2 separate regions of the Homo sapiens genome follow, and region 1 is linked to region 2. The links are contacts of gene promoters, found by promoter capture Hi-C in blood cells and fetal thymus (Javierre and others, 2016). All regions are on one chromosome and are shown on one strand. Each heading gives the region's core, a stretch centred on a gene start or on the middle of the fragment in contact. The rest is flanking DNA. Distances are from core to core; before and after follow the strand shown.

The links. Contacts are between HindIII fragments. The CHiCAGO score rates a contact against its expected background, and 5 or more counts as called.
Region 1: a fragment that was not itself captured here is called in contact with the fragment with the promoter of ARL13B in region 2 in 1 of 17 cell types (megakaryocytes); the score reaches 5.3 in megakaryocytes.

Annotation. Positions count from the first base shown.
Region 1 is chr3:93,897,946-93,905,415 of GRCh38, reverse strand. PROS1 (protein S) reads left to right here. Exons shown (of 15, transcript NM_000313.4): 7 at 4,487-4,612; 8 at 6,847-6,968. Among named protein-coding and RNA genes, the nearest start is that of PROS1, 72 kb to the left of the region's middle. The HindIII fragment of the contact is 736 bases long and covers 4,238-4,973 here.
Region 2 is chr3:93,975,811-93,983,391 of GRCh38, reverse strand. It overlaps ARL13B (ARF like GTPase 13B), which reads right to left and starts at 3,237. Exons shown (of 10, transcript NM_001174150.2): 1 at 2,910-3,237. The coding sequence starts at 2,968. It also overlaps the pseudogene RNU6-511P. RefSeq lists enhancers at 3,070-3,199, 3,470-3,629. The HindIII fragment of the contact is 5,745 bases long and covers 2,595-7,581 here.

The DNA.
Region 1 (7,470 bases), core at 3,356-5,855, 79 kb after region 2:
TGCCCAAACTGATCTTGAACTCAAGTGAGCCTCCTGTCTCAGCCTCCCAAAGTGTTTGGTTTACAGATGGGAGCTCTCTGCCTGGCCTGCATTTTAGTTTACAGTACTGATAACACAATTTTTAAAAATTTTCTTATTGTATGTGCGTGTACACACTTGTGTGTATGTTTCAATAAGGAATTTCATTATAAAGTGATGTTTCAATGCAAGTCTTTGCATGCTACAAACTTTGCAAAATCATTGTTTATCCTGTTTTCAGACATTATATTTTTTATTCTCTTCTAGTAAGATACATAGCCATAGAAAGAAATCCACTGCAATAACCTCTTCCATTGTATTTTATTTTTCCTTTTCAGAAATACTTTTCTGATTTCCAACATCAGCCCTTCATCTGGCACCTCATTTCCTGTTGTGGTTTTGGGAAAGTAAAAGATCTAGTTTTCTTTCTCTTTATACCTTTAAGATCATATCATTGGTCATAACTCCTTTTTCTTCTTCAGACTTAAATATTCCCTGTTAGTTTAGCTTTCTAACAAGTCATTTTACTAGTGTATTTGTTTTGTTTTTCATTGTTTTCCTATCCCTAAATTTTGACTTTTTTTCTCTTTGTATACTGTCTTTCAGTTTGGCTGTGTTAATGCTATGACTAAATCTTCAAGTATTCATACCAGGTGTATGGATGACTAAAAATAAAATTTCCCACCTGGACTTAAAATTTGCCTTTAGAAACTGGATACAATATAATATCCAAGTTCTCTCCTCCAGTACTTTTTGTTTGCTTGTTTTGCTAAAATGTTAAAAAAAAAAGTAAGTTAAAATGTGAATTTCTTGTTCGACTCTTTATTTTATATATATTTTGGTAAAGCCCTAAATTGGATTCATGTTCAAATCATCCATCTCTTACTGAATAGCAGTGTTTAGTATGATAAAATGTACTATAATATTATTTAAACTGCAGTTAAATGACTCTAAAGTGAACTACATTAACAACAAATTCTTCTAAACAGTTATCCAATTTGTGATCATGTATCTTTCTTATCTGCCTATTTGAAGGTCTGTTTGAGTTTGGATTTTGAGACTACTTAGAATATATACCCAAAGGACTATAAATCATGCTGCTATAAAGACACATGCACACGTATGTTTATTGCGGCATTATTCACAATAGCAGAGACTTGGAACCAACCCAAATGTCCAACAATGATAGACTGGATTAAGAAAATGTGGCACATATACACCATGGAATACTAAGCAGCCATAAAAAATGATGAGTTCATGTCCTTTGTAGGGACATGGATGAAATTGGAAATCATCATTCTCAGTAAACTATCGCAAGAACAAAAAACCAAACACCGCATATTCTCACTCATAGGTGGGAATTGAACAATGAGATCACATGGACACAGGAAGGGGAATATCACACTCTGGGGACTGTTGTAGGGTGGGGGGAGGGGGAAGGGATAGCATTGGGAGATATACCTAATGCTAGATGACGAGTTAGTGGGTGCAGCGTGCCAGCATGGCACATGTATACATATGTAACTAACCTGCACAATGTGCACATGTACCCTAGAACTTAGAGTATAATTAAAAAAAAAAAGACTGTCATTAGGACATGAGTGATAGAAAAACCATCACAATGCTGGATACCATATGCATTTTGTAAACAAATAGTACCCATTCTTACTTCTACGCTTAAATACTTTAATAGTCTCTTTCTAAAGAATTTGTGTTTTTATTGTTTTTTTAAGATAGATAGGGTTTTGCTCTGTCACCTAGGCTGGAGTGCAGTGGAACGATCTCAACTCAATACAGCCTCAACCTCCTGGGAGATCCTCCCACCTCAGCCTCCCAAGTAGCTGGGACTACAGGTGTGCACCACCATGCCTGGCTAATGTTTGTAGCTTTTGTACAGAGACAGATGGAGTTTTGTCATACTGTCCAGGCTGGTCTCAAATTCTTGGGTTGAAGTGATCCATCCACTTCAACCTCACAAGGTCGTGGGATTACAGGCATGAGCCACCACACCTGGCCAAATTTGTGACTTTTTAAAAATTAAAAAGTATTTAATTCTTATCCACTCAGTTAATACACATATATATGTGTAAATGATTACAAAAGTGCTCTTATTAATAGGAATGTTCCTGATGACCACATCTGTTCTTATATTCATTTGCATTATTGTTTAGTCATGATATGTAAGTAATAACGTATAAAACAGATAGAAGAATATATAAAAAACTGTTACAGCCAGGCACTGTGGCTCATGCTTGTAATCCCAGCACTTTGGGAGGCCGAGGTGGGTGGATCAACAACAGGTCAGGAGATCGAGATCATCCTGGCTAACACGCTGAAACCCCGTCTCTACTAAAAATACAGAAAATTAACCAGGGTGGTGGCGGGTGCCTGTAGTCCCAGCTACTCCGGAGGCTGAGGCAGGAGAATAGCGTGAACCCGGGAGGCAGAGCTTGCAGTGAGCTGAGATCACAACAGATCTGTCTCAAAACAAACAAACAAACAAACAAACCAAAACCACAAAAAACACTATTACAATGAGACCTTTGCCAAGATGTAGAAATGGTTGGGATCCAGTTGCCAGTAACTGTCTAAAGATGAAAGAATAAAGCTTAACTTTTCTTTTCTTCTTCTTCTTCTTTTTTTTTTTTGAGACAGAGTCTCGCTATGATGCCCAGGCTGGAATGTAGTGTGAGCTCGGCTCACTGCAACCTCTGTTTCCCGGGTTCAAGTGATTCTCCTGCCTCAGCCTCCCGAGTAGCTGGGACTACAGACGCATGCCACCACGCCTGTCCAATTTTGTATTTTTTGGTAAAGACGGGGTTTTGCCATGTTGACCAGGCTGGTCTTGAACGCCTGAGCTCAAGTGATCTGCCCACCTTGGCCTTCCAAAGTGCTGGGATTACAGACATGGGCCACTGTGCCCAGCTGAAAGAATACAACCTTTCAGTCAGACATTAGATGTCAGTTTGGAGTCATAAAACCAATGTACTGTAACTTAAACTTGTATGATCTAAATAATTCCCTGCAATATGCCTCAAACCAAATACACTTATTGACATATTTTTACTGATTTTATTTTATTTTATTATTTATTTATTTAGTGACAGGGTCTCCCTCTGTTGCCCAGGATGGAGTGGAGTGGTGCAATCATAGTTCAAGGCACCCCAGCTTCTGGGTTCAAGTGATCCTCTTGCCTTATCCTCCTTAGTAACAAGAACACATGCCACCACTCCTGGCTAATTTTTTTCTCTTTTCCTTTTTTGTTTTTAATATGTAGAAGTGGGGTTCCACCATGTTGCTCAGGCTGGTCTCGAACACTTTGACCCCCAAAGTGCTAGGATTACAGCACTGCTGCTGTGCCCGGCCACTCCTGGCTAAATTAAGAAAAAAAACTTTGTAGAGACAGTGTCCCACTGTTGCTCAGGCTTACTTTATTTCAAAAACATAGAGTTTTTAGCTCTTTTTAAAAATCGGATATTTTACTTTGAATTAATTAAAGATTCACATGAAGTTGTAAGAAGTAATACAGAGAGATGCTATATACCCTTTACCCCATTTTCCCTTAGTGGTAAGAGTTTACAAAATGATAGTACAATTTCACACTCAAGACATTGACAATGATACAGTCAAAATATAGAAAAATTCCTACAAGGGAACTGGTTTTATTATTTTTGTGCAAGTTATTTTAAATAATATCCTAAATTTTGACTATTAATCTGGAAAAAAAGCTGTCAACTTTTAGAATAGAAAACATATTTTCTGTTCTGAATTTGTCTTTCTCCAGAGAGTACACAGAATAGTTCACTAATAATTCCGTCTCCATTGAACTATTTCTGTCACATGTTTTGTTTTCTTCACAGGTGCTCATCTAGTAACTAATTGCTAACAATATGTTATCTCCTTCTTCATTTGGCAATATAATATATGCATCTGAAATTTCTGGAATATTCATTTAGCACTAAATTCATATTGGATTAACTGCAGATTTATAAGTACTTAGAGACCTTAATCTTATTTTAAATTTGAATCACTATTGTCTACTTTAGACAACAATAGTAGTGTACTAATTAGATGTTTGTTCATTTCCAAAGAAACAAGATAGAAGAGATGAGCCTTCCCATGTACAAAAAATACTTGTGATAATATGGAGTGAATCTGTTTTCAAGACCTCCATTTATTTTCGCACCACAACCTGGCAGATAAGAAAATTTCTAAAGCTTTCTCCTTCTTAACATAACTAGAAAGGAACATGGCAAACATCAATCAAATTTCCCTCTGCATTTGTAGAAAGAAATCATATTTAGTGAGCTAACATATGATGATAGATTTAATGTTTTTTGGTCCAAAGGCCAATCTGTTATCTCATTACATATATTAAACAAGATCCAGGAAACACAAATCAAGGGTTCTTTGGTAGTGTCTGCTGGTATGGGAAAAATGTTTTTTAATATAGTGATTTTATTTATAGATGTGGATGAATGCTCTTTGAAGCCAAGCATTTGTGGCACAGCTGTGTGCAAGAACATCCCAGGAGATTTTGAATGTGAATGCCCCGAAGGCTACAGATATAATCTCAAATCAAAGTCTTGTGAAGGTAGGATGATGGTGGTATCATTACTGATGGTGGAGAGGGTGGGTGTGAACCCTGAACTGATATTTAAAAGCATTGGCTTTGTTTGACATCAACAGTCATATTTTCTTATCCCTAATATAGCTTGTTCAATTGGGTAATCATTGGCTTCCTTCCTTCCAGAGCAAGAGTATGTAAGGCATATGGTCTTTAAGTTTGGTGTTAGGCACGCCAGTTGGCCCTTTGAGCTACCTATGAATTGGAGACCTCCATGTGTGGTAAAAACAAGATAAACATATTTTCACATCATTTATATCATATTCAAAGATAAAGAGAATTTCACTTTGGAAGGAAAAACAGTAGATAGAAAAGAAAGACACAAGCTTAAAAATCATCTTATTGAGACAATGAGCATGGTTAAAACTTTAGTTTTTATTCCAAGCTTTTCAGTGATTTTTCTGTGCATATATAAATAAATCATTTATTCTAAAATAAAAAATGACACAGTTCTATTATCTCATGATAAAGAAATGATAACAATACTCTAGAAATTTAAGAAATACTGATCGGTAATGTCAGAGCCTGTGGGTTTGGGGCAACCCCTTAAAGGTGCTGTTACTTCATGTGACTGCAGTGGCGCTGCCCTGTGTGCATCAGGAAGCTTCAACATATTATAGTTGTTTGTTTGTAGGTTTGTTTATTATGATATACAGATTATCTCATACCTTCCTTTCGATTTTTTAAAATTTTAAAACAGATTTACTGCCATGGCTGGAACTAATCAACACTAATTTTTCTATTGTATCTGTATATATATATGTATGTATGTATATTCACACACATGTATAATGTACCTTTTAAAAAATAGATTTAGGGGCTACAAGTACAGTTTTAATGTACTCTTTTAACCATTTTTAAATGTACAGTTCAGTGGCATTAATTACATTCATGCCATTATGCAGCCATCACTGCTATTTCCAAAACTTTTTCATCAGCCCCAACAGAAACTCTTAAGCAGTAACCATTAAGCAGTGAGTTTTCTTTTATTAGTTACCTTGATGGCGGTAACCTCTAATCTTGTTTTCTGTCTCTATGAAGTTGCCTAAATCAATAATAATTTTACAATATATTTTTTAACTACGTATGCTGCTTTTGAGATTTTGATGTCCTATCATCTCCTTTTGCAATCACCAAAAATATTCCCCTGCCAGCCCCCGCAACACATTTCTCCTTTCTCACCATTGCAGATAGAAATTACCGTGGAAAACTCTAGATGTCTGCGGAATTATCATTAGCCAACTTCATCACTTGTATTGTAGTTTTATTTAATGAATGACATATTTTTTAAAAAGATTTATATATGACTCTTATCTATAACTTTAATAATATGCAATTTTAATACTAAGGATTATTAATTTTGGGAATCTATTTTAAATTATTTTATGAGAACATATTCAATAATAGCATTTATGAGCTTGTGGAGTTTTAAAGGTCATAGGGCATATCCAATGAAAATGTCAATGATCTTATATAACTCTGAGATAGATGTTTGCTTCAACATAATATTATAAATTTCCAAGAATGATTTTCTCAAAATATGGAGTAGGGACAGGGACCATATAGAAGATTTCATAATATGGGAGATTACATCACAGTGAGGTTTTTTAAAAAAAAAAAAACAGATATTTCCCTAAATTCACTGCCAACATTAATTATCGCATTATGAGTGTTCCAATGTTCTTGATATTGTCATTTAATTCCTGATTGTATCAACCTTCAGTTAAAGGGGTCTTTTCTTCCCTTCCCTTCCCTAACTTTCCTTTCCTTTACTTCCCCATCATGCTCTCCCTTCCTCTTTCCCTTCTCATTTCTTTTTTCTTTTTTTCAAAGCAATGAATTGTGAGGTAATCTCAATGAAATTCAAATGATCAGAAATGACAGTTAAGTTGAGATTCTCAATCTTTTTTTTCTTCAAATTCAAAATGAGAAATTTGGTAGAATTGTTATACTTTACTTAATCACTGAAAGTTATAAATTAATTTTTGTTTCAAATATGTAAATAAAAACTATACTTGTAACTCGTTTAAATTTCCATGTTCAGTATTATGTTTAAATGTAGTTTGATGTCATAGTATTTCTTTCCCTAAGGTTCGATTATCATTGATTATATCATACTACAATCATAATATTCCTCTGCCTATAAGATTGAACATTTAGGGGATATTAAAGTTTGTGTGCGTGTGTTTTTTTTACCTCAGATATAGATGAATGCTCTGAGAACATGTGTGCTCAGCTTTGTGTCAATTACCCTGGAGGTTACACTTGCTATTGTGATGGGAAGAAAGGATTCAAACTTGCCCAAGATCAGAAGAGTTGTGAGGTAAACATTTTACAATGCTTAACTTCTCACCTGTTTTCTAAAATGAGAGATCCTAGATACTTATTTTCACATAGCTAAGTCAGGAAAATACAGACGTTCTGCAATAATTGCTGTAGCTTTAAGCAGGTTATGAGTCATGATTATTTACTAATTATGGTCATGTAAGTCATAAACATTGGGGATAATTAGTGGCTGGGTTTAAAAAAAAGAGGGTAGAGTCACAGTTTAGAGAGTACTTATCTGTAGTCTGTACATTTATAAAATACAACTTGTATGTTTACTTAAGAAATCAAGAAAAGCTGAGTTTAATAGCCCTCATTGTGAAAAAAAATCTCTCATAGAAACTTCAGTGAAAACATTTTCCAGTGTCTACTTTTCTGGATTCCACTCTGACTAGTTTGATCATGCCTTAGGCGTTATAGGGTTTATAAAGTGCTCATAAAATTTCAGAGGGTACAAGTGCAGTTTTAATGTACCCTTTTAACCATTTCTAGGATTTAGT
Region 2 (7,581 bases), core at 1,988-4,487:
AAATTCATGAATGGGGCCATACCAAACCCCAAATAAGTGGGGTTCAGTACTCCACTAAGGGGGATGAAGCGTTAAACTTTTATAAGATCTTGACTGCTGACCTAGACTGGTGCCTTAACACTTGATCTCTGACTCCTGCCTTGTCCTTATCACACAAATCTAATCCCTGATTCCAATGTCTGGAATAATATGCTCACTAGGAAAGGATCTAAGTGAGGAGAGGTGAACAAATACAATGGGTACTGGGGTACAGAATGTATTAAACAAATCTGCAAAGTAATCTCAAATATAGTATATTAATAACCATCATCATCTCTTTTACAAATTCACTCCTCACATTTCATCTTCATAAAATATAAACATGAAGAGGAATCTTAATAAGAAATTCTACAGAAAACAAATATATACATAATAATCAAACAGGCAATTTCTGTTGAAAAAATAGAGAACACCATAAAAGCACAAAATTTTGTTTTTAAAATTAGCTTGCTCACCTCTCATTTATTCCAGTAAAATAAATGGAACTACTTGCTAATGTTATTTACTTCAGGATGATTATTACTAAGAAAAATCGAACTACATACAATATTTGGCAAATATTTATTCAGCCACTATTATAAATCAGGCATTGAACAAGGGGACTTAGAAGACAGGGGTAATCCAACTTGTGTTCAAATTCTTTGACAGTTATCCAAATTGAGATGTTTACCTATGTCCTTTATATTAGGCTATGATCCAGAGCAGTAAGATCCAACAGAAATGTTAACATAAGCAACATATACATTGAAATTCTCTAGTAATCTCATTTTTTAAAAAGTAAAAAAAAGTTAATTCTAATATATTATTTAACCTAGCATATGCAAAAGTTATCATTTCAACATGTAATCATACTTTTAAAAGACTGATAAGATGCTGACTTTTTTGCATAATAAATCTTTTTTCAAAGCCCACTATGTATTAAACATACACTTACAGCATCTTAATTCAGACTAGCCACATTTCAAGTGCTCAACAGCCACGTGTAGCTCGTTGTTACCCTACTGGACAGGACAAATCTAGATGGTGCTTATTAAAGAAGAAAATACACTCTGGGTTATGCAGCTAAATTTTAATAATGCTTTATTAAGAAAATTCAATTATCTGTTCTACTTGGAAATCAATACATTCTCCTTTCTCTGAACTCTTCTCTTTAAACAAATCATTCCAGAGAGTATATATACAAAAGCTGCTAAGAAAAGGAAAGACTAAGAATGATGAATTAAATTGAACACTCCTTCTTCGAATTACACGTTTTCACTGTTTCTCGTTAAAAGAACGTAAGTTATATACATGCCTTCACAGAAACCAAATACATTTCTTAAAAGCAGACACGGAGGAAAATGAGGGGTCAACTATTATGAATGACCCTCAAGTCTTAGTAGATACTGTGAAATTAGACCAGAATATAATTAAAGCAAATAAATCAGAATCTATGCACCTAAAACAACTCTTTGACTTTTTTCTTTTTTTTTTTTTTTTTTTTTTTTGAGACAGGGTTGCACTGTGTCACTCAGGGAGTGCAGCGATATCGGCTCACTGCAACCTCCGCCTCCCAGGCTCAAGTGATCCTACTGATTCAGCCTCCGAAGTAGCTTGGACTACAGGCGTGCGTCACCGTGCCCGTTTATTTTATTGTAGAAACGGGGTTTCGCCATATTGACCAGGCTGGTCTCGAACTCCAGGGCTCCAAAGATCGGCCAGCTTCGGCCTCCCAAAGTGCTGGGATTACAGGCGTGAGCCACCACACCCAGCCCATCTTTGACTTACAGAGTTGATCTTACTACTTATATTTAAAACATTCAAATTCAGTTAGGAGCTAATAATGGGGAAGAATCTCTAGTTTCATTTAAAGTTACTTTTTTTCCAATCTAGACATGTATTTTCTGTTATAATGTGTAAGTGTAGCTTTTCAGATTCATTCTTTAAAGGATAGTTCATTCTCATGGCAAATATACTTAAAATGTTAACAATTTAAAAAAAAAAACAACTTTGCTTTATCTTACCCTTGGCCCAATTCCAGACTAGAACTATGTGAAGTCAACATTATTTGTGTAACAAACACAAGATCTCTTTATAGGTTAGGCCTCAGTTTCAAAAGCATCAATTTCACTGATTATTTCCTAAGACAGTGCCTGGCACAAGGTATTGTCTTAATAAATATTTTTTGAATGAATGAATATCAAGTAACAGGTACTAATTATTAATACTTCCAGCATTTCAAAATGAAATGTTAAAAAGTGGACCCTTTCAATTAAAAGGTTTTACTAGAGACCGTATAAAAATTGGAAGCTACATTACAGTTAAGAAAACACTATCACTTGTTCTCATTGAATACAATATTTCTAAAGCAGAGTATTATCACTCTCATTTAATATTTAAGAAAGGTGGGGCCAAAATGGTTGAGTCATGTAATTATTAAGTAGTGGAGCCAGATTTCAAGCCCACGTCCTCAAATACAACTGTGTGGAGGTGTGACTTGGAATGGAATGTGCGGATATTATGAAAACTATATTCCATGTCCCCCTCTTTTTAAAAGAATTTCCATTACAAAAGCTTCAGAGGAAAAACACACAATGGATAGTTTTCAATTCCACACACACACACACACACACACACACACACACACTTTTTAACAAATTCAAACCTATTTAAAATATAACAACGGTAAGCATTGTCAATCGCAACAGAAAGTCGACCAGACAACAAGGCTACATCCTCCAATCTCTCCCTCCCGGGACACCCTGGGAATGAAAGCATCCCTTGCGGCCTGGGATAGACTCGTCCAGGCGCGGGGAAAAGGCGGCGCCTCGCCCCTGGGGCGCAGCCATCTCCAACCCCTAGGACGGCCAGGACAGCTGGCTCCAGCCTACCTGACAGGCTCCCGCCACCGCTTGAACCAGCCGCAGCAACTGGCCATCAGACTGAACATCCCGGGTCGCTCCTCCCACCACTTCCCATCCGAGCCCGGAGCGGACACCGGCACCCCGCTCTTCCCCGGGGGCCTCCGGCACTCCGAGACGCCCCTAAAGTGGATAAGTCGGGAGGAAAAGCCGGGAGGGAAGTGAAGGCGGCCGGCCCGAGCACTAAGCCTTGCTAACCGCGTGGGTCCGCGACGACTGCCCTCTTAGCCAAGGAACAACCTGACCAAAGACGCAGATACACCGTAGCCGAGTTAGCGGGACCCGGCTAAAGAAAAGCCCCGCGTCGACGTGCTGACGTTACTTCGAGGCGCGGAAGGCGTTCCCCAGGCAACGCCCGTACTGCGCTCGCCCAATCATCGGTTGAGGTCCTGAGGTAGAGGCCTCTGAGTGGCTGAAGAGTCCTGGCTACCCGCCCCTGCGCGAGACTAGGAAAAGAGAAAGGGGAGTACTCTATAAGAAGGAGGCGGAGCTCGAGGTAGCTCGTTCTCGTAACTAGGCAACCGGAGCGTCCGGAGATAAGCTGGAGGATCCGGGACAAATCTCCAGCAAGGCCTATCTTTATACCTACATAAAATGTGTTGCCAATCCACGGTGCTGTTCCTTTCCTTTCTCCAGTGTCCCCAACTGAGATTCAGAGATCTCAGGTCTTGTGCATGGGTTTTTCTTTTTCTTTCTTTCTTTTTTCTTGTTTTTTGTTTGTTTGTTTTTTGCTCAGGGATGGGGACCCTCTAGAATTCTGGCCGACTTAGGCAGCATGACTACAGGAACAATACACTGGGGCAATTCTTGTAAGTTAAAGACAAGGGGGAAATTCGCTTGCTAAATTTTCTCAGTAGTTCAGATGAGAGTGAAGCCTTAATCTCTAAAACGTTTATTACTGTTACATATGTGAAACGGAATTGTATGATATTTGTTGTAGGGGGGATTGTGATTACAAAAGAAAAATGCATTTCTTGTAGAAAATGTGAAAAATACTAAAAAGAAACAAGATGAAGAAAATGAGATCTCACAGGAGCTCTCAAAGATAACCATTTGGGGCCGGGCGCGGTGGCTCACGCCTGTAATCCCAGCACTTTGTGAGGCCGAGGCGGGCGGATCACGAGGCCAGGTGATCTAGACCATCCTGGCTAACATGGTGAAACCCCGTCTCTAGTAAAAATACAAAAAAAAAAAAACAAAAAAAAACAAAAACGGGTGTGGTGGCACGCGCCTGTAGTCCCAGCTACGCTGGAGACTGAGGCAGGGGAATTGCTTGAACCCGGGAGGCGGAGGTTGCAGTGAGCCGAGATCGCGCCACTGCACTCCAGTCTGGGCAACAGAGCAAGACTCCGTCTCAAAAATAAATAAATAACCATTTTGATGTATGTTTGTTTCAGGATTTTTAGGTACATAAATTGCTGGCTATTTGGTATCTGCAAGATGAAGATTGTTATCTCTTGACTGTTTTGTAATAGTTTATTTTTTAAAGAGGTATGTAATATTTGCATTTCTTTTATATACTTTGGAGAAAAAGAAATGACAAGGACATTCCTGTAGGGAAAAAATTATGCACAATATGTAGGGATCTGTGTGTCCATTCATTTTCTACTTAAATAAATATTTTCAAATCCTGATGAAAGGATAGAAGGCACTGAGAATCCCAGTGTATTCGCGGGGAATATAATGATTTGAGACTAAGATACATATAGGTTTTAAATTAGTCTCTGTCCTTTACTAAATCATGTAACTTTTTTTGGTTTTGTTTTGTTTTGTTTGAGACAGAGTCTCCCTCTATCACCCAGGTTGGAGTACAGTGGCATGATCTCGATTCACTGCAACCTCCGCTTCCTGGGGTCAAGTGATCCTCCTTCCTCAGTCTCCCAAGTAGCTGGGACTAGAGACGTGCACCATCACGCCCAGCTGATTTTTGTATTTTTTGTAGAGACAGGGTTTCATCATGTTGCCCAGGCTGGTCTCAAACTCCTGGCCTCAAATGATCCGCCTGCCTCGGCCTCCCAAAAGTGCTGGGATTATAGACATGAGCCATGGCACCCAGCCTCATGTAATTTTAATTCAAATTTATATACATCTCATACAGCTTGCTATCTCCAAAATACTGTGCCTTATGGGGAACAAAGGGGGTGATACCTTTTCTTCTCATCATAACAGTCACAGCCAACACTCATATAACAAAAAGAATAGCAAGAGAAAAGCATAACAAATTTATTTAATCCAAGTTTTATGTGACATGGGAACCTTGCAAATGGAGATGCAAAGATGCAGGGAAGACTACCCATTTTTATACTTGGGTTCGATGAAGAATGAAAAACCCTGAAGAACTCTCATTGGTCAAAAAGGATATGACCTAATGAGAGCAGACTGTGTGGAGAAACTCAGCAAGGCCTGTCTGTTCAGATTCCTCTTGACCTGATTGTTCAGCATTCCTTCTTCCAGGGTATGGGGTAGGACCCTTTCTAGAATGGGAGTCTTAAGACGTACTATCAAACAATGCAAGTCAAAGAATTTATTTATGGGCAGGTCTTTCATGGAAAGGAAGAAGGTTAGAGTAATATTTTGGGGTTTGTGGCTGGCTTTGGGGAAAGGGGGTTGTGGTTTCTATAACTGCACCTGGAGAAAGAGGAATTATAGTTTCTATGGCTTGCATAGTGGGAGAATGAGGGGCAAGAGACGAGGAACAGAAGGTTAGAGACAGAAACTTTGCTTCTGAGGCCTTTATTCTGGGATATTTTCTTCTAAGCTCCAACAACCCTATCTATAACATGGAAATTAAAATACCTACTTTTCCAGGTTGCTAAGGTGATGAAATGAGAGAAATGAAGCTCAAGTGTAATTTCTGATAAATAATAGATAGCAAATTTTAAAGTTGGTGTCACCTGTCCCATAAACACTTATGGTATGTGTCCTCCTACCTCCAAATATCCATGGTGGGAGACAGGAGAGCAGGGCAGGATAAGACTGCAATGCTCCATTAACTCCAAGCCAATTTAGGACTGTTTCTGCTGACTCTACTTTCATGACTCACTTTCTTAAACTAGTGTCTTGCAAACCCTAAAGTTATATTGTTTGTATTCACTCTTTGATCCATTTACTATGATTGGGCTTCTGTCCCATCTAACTACTGAAAGCATATTTTTTGATATAACTTATATCTTCCTAATTACCAAATCGGTTTTCTTTTCTATTATTTAATATATATATAATATAGTTAACTTTTCTAAAACTGTTTCCTGCCTTGGTCTTTCACAGTTATGCACTGCACTACCCTACCCTGGTTCTCTTCTTCTTTGTTTTTTTAACTTATTATGGACCGCTTCATGAATTTGCATGTCATCCTTGTTCAGGGGCCATGCTAATCTTCTCTGTATCATTCCAATTGTTGTATATGTGCTGATGAAGTGAGCACAACCCCTGGTTCTCTTCTGATCTCCCAGGCCATTCCTCCTCTGGATTTCTATATGTAACTTCTAAGATATGACCTTACCCCTCTGCTTTTCTTTTTTAAAACATGTTGTCTTGATGGAATTTGATTATTATTTCTGTGACTGAAGGATCTCATGATGTGTATGTTTCTTGAGCATTTTTAGAACTATATTCAAGACTGTTTTTTCACAAATATATACTCAACACCAGTTTTGCAGTAAATCCTCATTTATCTTCATCCAGAGGTTCTTAGAAACTATAATTTTAAACAAAATAACATACAATAAAACCAATTTTACCACAGACAAATTGATATAAATCAATTAAGTTCCTGTGGCACATTTCTGGTCACAAAAACATCACCAAACTTCAAAATAAAGATGGAACCACTAGTAATAGTAAACATTGAAATAAATGTGAGCTATACATTAAGAAAGATGAATAACAACAAGTAAGATAATTATTTGTCCACTTATTCCAGTTCAGGATCATAGGTGGCATCTCAGGGTAAAAGGTGAGAACTAGCCCTTGACAGGACACCATTCCATCACAGGGTGCTCTCATACATGCCCACACTCACTTAGACTGGGACAGTTTAAACACACCAATTCACCTAACATCCACATCTTTCAGATGTGGGAGGAAAATGGAGTACCTGGAGAAAACCCATGCAGACGTGGGGAGAACATGCAAACTCCATACACACAGTGGCCTGGGCCAGTAGTTGATTTTATTTTTCTCAGCCATGTCATAATGAAACAATACTATTAAAGCATCTGCTCTACTTCATGCCTTCCCCATTTCTGCTAGTGATAACATTACCGAGCATTCCTGGTGCCAACATGCAGTCCCTTAGCAAAGCTGACTCTTAGTTTTTGAATATCTTAAGTGGTTTGGTAGCCATAAGTGCTGCTCACCATGTCTAGTTCTCTTTCCTTACAGGCACATGAAATAACAGTTATTCCCACCCTCTTCAAGTCAGGCATACCTCGTGCCTTGCTTTGTCTAATGAAATGTAAGTGGTATGTCACTTCTTGGTAAAAGTATTTAAGAGCTGGGGCACAATTCTCAATGTTCTCTCTTCTCTTGCAATGGTAATTGTAGAAGACTATGTTGACTTTGAGGGATTGTAAAATCAAAGCAGCATGAATTGCTGAGTTCACACATGGAAGATAGTTACTTGGAAAGTCATGCAGACTTG